Regions from separate parts of the Homo sapiens genome. Here region 2 is linked to region 1. Evidence: promoter capture Hi-C in human tissues and cell types (Jung and others, 2019). All regions are on one chromosome and are shown on one strand. The core of a region is centred on a gene start or on the middle of the fragment in contact, and the rest is flanking DNA. Distances in the headings are between cores, read along the strand shown.

Evidence for each region. The method cuts DNA at HindIII sites, captures the fragments that hold promoters and counts their contacts. A contact is called where the count stands out against the background at its distance.
Region 2: a contact is called between a fragment that was not itself captured here and the fragment with the promoter of CKAP5 in region 1, in 2 of the 25 tissues and cell types used here (IMR-90 fibroblasts and dorsolateral prefrontal cortex).

What each region holds. Positions count from the first base shown.
Region 1 is chr11:46,845,026-46,847,536 of GRCh38, reverse strand. CKAP5 (cytoskeleton associated protein 5) reads left to right here and starts at 1,257. Exons shown (of 44, transcript NM_001008938.4): 1 at 1,257-1,317. LRP4-AS1 (LRP4 antisense RNA 1) reads right to left here and starts at 1,126. Exons shown (of 3, transcript NR_038909.1): 1 at 1,038-1,126; 2 at 820-927. RefSeq lists enhancers at 863-982, 1,437-2,014 and silencers at 1,193-1,272, 1,453-1,602. The HindIII fragment of the contact is 16,643 bases long and covers 1-2,511 here.
Region 2 is chr11:47,137,378-47,139,888 of GRCh38, reverse strand. CSTPP1 (centriolar satellite-associated tubulin polyglutamylase complex regulator 1) reads right to left here. Exons shown (of 9, transcript NM_024113.5): 4 at 2,160-2,244. Among named protein-coding and RNA genes, the nearest start is that of ARFGAP2, 38 kb to the left of the region's middle. The HindIII fragment of the contact is 3,299 bases long and covers 1-2,511 here.

The sequences.
Region 1 (2,511 bases), core at 8-2,507:
TGGGCCAGAACTAGATTATGTACATTTTAGTAACTGTCAAATTGTCCTCCTAAAGGTTTGTACCAATTATACTCTTACCAATATTGACTTTGAGTGTCCATTTTTCCAAATCTCTTTATATTTTTAAAAACAGAGATGGGGTCTTGATAGCAAGACCCAGGTTGGTCTTGAACTCCTGGCCTCAAGCAATCCTCCTGCCTCGGCCTCCCAAAGCGCTAGGATTACAGGCATAAGCCATTGCACCCAGCCTGTTTTTCCAAATCTTGACCAACCAAAGGCTGTTGAACTTTTTCATCTCTGCCAACTTGACAATGAAAAAACATGTAATTGTTTCATTTACTTTTATCCATCCTCTCTCCATCTTTTAGCCTGTTGGGAATCTACACATTCTTTAAATCCTAGGTTAAAAATTCATCTTCCTCACAGATCCTCCCCCATCAAATTTCTCCTGTCTCTAAGCATTTATAGCTTTTCATTTATACAGTTATTACACTGCTTTGAATTTTAGTGACTAGTCTGTATGTTATATTCCTCCAACCACTGTAGATTACAAATTCCTTGGAAGTAAGGACCTGAACTCATTCACAGAAACACTGAATGTAGAGCTAAGCTAAAATTCTGGAGATCATGTTAACCAAGCCTCTCGTTTTTATAAGGGAATATTAAGCATTTGCAGGATGCGTTACAGTTCACAAAGGCTTTTCTCAGACATTCTATTAGTTATATTAACTCCTCCATTAAATTGTAAGGGAAACATCGTTATCCCATTTTACAGATAAGGAAACAACTCCAGAAGATTTACTGAGAAAAGTGATTTACTCAGAACAGTTCCAAGGTCAGAATCCAGCATCCTGGCTTCATTCGCTGTTACTTCCACGACATCTCAGCTGCCTCTGGTTTCCCTCACAGCACTTAGCTTCACAATCTCTAGGGAATGAAATGACCAAAAAAAATTGTCGGGTGTTGACAGCAGCCTGAACATCTGTAATTAAATAAAGCAAACATGCTGACGACCAAGGATGCCCGGGTCTACACACATTCTTTCGCCTTTCTTTCTGGAGTCGGCAGACTTGCCCCCGGCAGCGACCAGCGTCCCCACCCGTGCAGGCGGCGTCTGGTCCAGAGGGAAACACGGCTGCGCGCGGCCCCTTTAAGGCTGCGGGCGGCGCGTGCCCACAGGCCTTTCAAATGGACCAATAAAAGTCCGATGGGCGGTCCGTCGAGGACCAATAAAGAACGAGGACACTGCGGGGTGTGCGGCGGCCCAAGCGGTTTCAAACGGCTTAGAGCAGGCCGCTTGGTTCTGACCCAGCTGAGGTGAGTGGTCGGTGGGCCTGCCCCACCCGCGAGGCCCTCGAGTGCAGGCATCGCGCGCGCAGAGGAGCCCCTGAATCCTGGGCGGCTGGAGGTCTCCAGACGCGCGCCCCACTTGCCCCACGAACCCGGCAGGTCTGAGGCGGCGAAGCGAGCCGGAGGCCGGGGGACCTGCGGCGGGCAGGGCCGGGGGCGTGGGCGCTCGTGTGCGGCGGAGGCCGGGGTTGGGCTCCAGGTGGCCAGAGCGCGCCGCAGCGTGGCGCGGGTGGCAGCGTCCGCGGGGCGCGGGCGGTGCAGGGCCGCGCCTGGCGGCAGCGATTTACCAAGACTAGGGCGGGGGCCCCGAGAGCCGGCCCTGCTAGAGTGCCTCTCGCGTAATTGTCAAGTGAATGAATAAGTAAGCGCCTACGAGGGCTGTGGTGGTTGCGAAGGGCCTTGTCGCCCTGGAGCAAGGACAGCGGCACCGGGGCCTGGCCGCACACCTGTGTCCCTGCTGGCTTGCTGCGATGTGAACGATTCCGATCATCCACCACCCCGCCCTTAACGACTGGCTTTCTCTCTCTCAACGTGTCGGGAGCGTTCTGGTGTCCTTCCAGCCCTGGAGGTGTTGGGGAACCAATACAATAGCCAGCAGTGTGGGTTGGGCCTTGCTACTTTAAGGTCGGGCTCGGTGAACTAGATTCTTACTTTTGAGCTCTCCCCTCTACTTGTAATCGTGGTAATTGTTGAGCAGGATTGAAATGCATTCCGTTGTGTTTCTTGGATAGAAAATGATGAAAGGGTTGTTGCCAGAGTGGCTAGTGTGTGTTAGAAAATATATTCGTGTTGATGAATCTTAACAATGAGTTTTTTATTCAGCATCAATAGAGGTTGAAGTGGTTTTTGCAGAACTTGCCCCAAATTTATGCGTGGCTCTAATTTAATTCTCATGGGACCAAGGCATCAAATCTTGGCCCAGAAATGCTGCCTGTCTTATGCATAATTATAGTAATTGAAAACTCATTTTTAGAAAGGTGAGCTCCTCCTTCCTCCATTTTCATCACCCTGAAAAGTCCTTCTTTTGACCTAAAGAGCCAATAAATTAAGCTAAGAATCTTTTGAAACTTTAAGAAATTGTAGAAGACTTTGACTTCTCTGAAGTGACTGGACAAACTGTAATGCTTTTACCAAATTTAATGATATAGATAAAGGTGAAAT
Region 2 (2,511 bases), core at 7-2,506, 290 kb before region 1:
GAGCATGAAGAGACTCCTTGTGCTCCCGATCCCCCATCTCTGGATTCAGGCTGACTGCGGTTCCAGTTCTGCCACTGCTACTTACAAGCTATCAGTATATTCGCACAACATTGTCACCCGTCTGAGCCTCAGTTCCCACTTCAGTGAAGTGAGCAGTAACAGTACCCTTCCCTCAACTGGGGTTCATCACTTTCATGCTCCCTTTTTTTTTTTTTTTGACGTTCAGTCTCACTCTGTCCCCCATGCTGGAGTGCAGTGGCACAATCGGCTCACTGCAACCTCTGCCTCCCAGGTTCAAGTGATTCTCCTGCCTCAGCCTCCCAAGTAGCTGGGATTACAGGTGCCTGCCACCACGCCAGGCTAATTGTTGTATTTTTAGCAGAGACAGGGTTTCACCATGTTGGTCAGGTTGGTCTCGAACTCCTGACCTCAGGTGATCCATCCACCTCGGCCTCCCAAAGTGCTGGGATTACAGGCATGAGCTACCACGCCCAGCTGCTTTCAGGCCCTTCTGGTCTCCAACCGCAACCCTCTTCATCACAAGTCACTGCCAACCCTTGCCTCCTCTTTTCTCAGAATATCCTCTAGGGGTGTGTGTGGGAGTGTGGGTATGTATTTGTGTGTGTGTTTTGTTGTTTGCCTAATACTCTCACCACCCTCCAACTCTGTCTTCAGAGCCGGAGGCTCCCCACAGAAACCACAAAGGATCATTTTAAAGGGAAGTAACAGTTTTTACAAGGATTAGGTGAGATAGTTAAGGTAAACAAATTTAAATAGAACAATGAAGGTAAATGCATTCAGTATGATATAGGGAAGGTAGGCATTCTTCGATAAACATGATTTTTGCTGTACGTCCATTTGCAACCCTAGCTCAGGTTTTTTTTTTTTTTTTTTTTTTTTTTTTTTTTTGAGACGGAGTCTTGCTCTGTCGCCCAGGCTGGAGTGCAATGGCACGATCTCTGCTCACTGCAACCTCCGCCTCCCAGGTTCAAGCGAATTCTCTTGCCTCCACCTCCCGAATAGCTGGGACTACAGGCAAGCGCAACCGTGCCTGGTTAATTTTTTGTATTTTTAGTAGAGATGGAGTTTCGCCATGTAGGCCAGGCTGGTCTTGAATACCTGGCTTCAGGGGATCTGCCTGCCTTGGCCTCCCAAACTGCTGGGATTACAGGCGTGAGCCACCGTGTCTGGCCTAGCTCAGGTTTTGAGTTAAGTAAGTAAAAGTTAACTGAGGCATAGTCCAATTACCTCATGTGGTTAAAAATTGTGAATGATGGTGAAACCCAACACAGAAATTAGGGGCTTCTAACTATTTCTGCCAAGTCCTGGTTCTGGACTGATCTTGAAAACCTTCTTCTGGCATAAATAATATAATGTGCCTTTCCTTCAACTGGGGCTTTATCACCTTTATGCCCTTCCAGTCCCCAACCTCAACTCTCTTCATCACAAGTCACTGCCAACCCTTGCCCCCTGATATGGTTAGGCTTTGTGTTCCCACCTAAATCTCAACCCGAATTGTAATCCCCAGGTGTTGAGAGGGAGACCTGGTGGAAGGTGATTGGATCACATGGGCAGTTTCCCCCATGCTGTTCTTGTGATAGTGAGTGAGTTCTGAAGACATTTGATGGTTTTATAAGCGTCTGACATTTCCCCTGTCTGTACTTCTCTCTCCTACCACCATGTGAAAAAGGTCCTTGCTTCCCCTTTGCCTTCCACCACGATTGTAAGTTTCCTGAGGCCACGCGGAACTGTGAGTCAATTAATCCTCTTTTCTTCATAAATTACCCAGTCTTGGGTAGTATCTTTACAGTAGCGTGAAAACACACAAATGCAGCCCCTCTTTTCTCAGAATATCCTCTAGGGTGTGTGTGTGTGGGGGTATTGGAGGGGTCTGGGCTTTTTCTGCCTCTTCATCTCACCACCCTCCAACTCTATCTTCAGACCCTGAGGCTCCCCACAGAAACCACAAAGGATCATTTCGCTTCCCTTTGGAAATGCAGAATGTATTATGTTTTGGGGCACATCCCAAATAGACCCCTCTCCCACTGCCAGTTTCTTCCCTAAATGCTCCTTTTTTTCATTTGTATACACTCCAGGTTTCTCTAGGAAGCAGTGGCCCACAGAGAGCTGAGTTGGTTTCAAGAGTCCAGGAGACGTACCTGGCTGCTTTCTGAGTGAGCTCCAGCGGGAAATCAGGACACAGTAATTGCAGCAAACAGTGATATTCTTTCATGGTCAGCAAATCTGAAGTGGAAATGGAGAGGAACACATTAGGTCTCTGCATTTCAAGTCACTGCCCTCTTTTTGTTCATTTCATGAGTTTCAGACCTGGTCTTGGTAGAGCTGTTCTTTTAAAAGCAAGTCAGTGTGAAGGGTATGCTAGTCTCTAACCTCCAGGTGTGAGATTTTAAGATCAGTATTTCTACAAAGCTTTTCCAGGGTGGGAGGCATCCAGTTACACCATTTTGACCAAAGGAGCTTCACTGGTATGAAAATTGGTCGGGTGAAGAG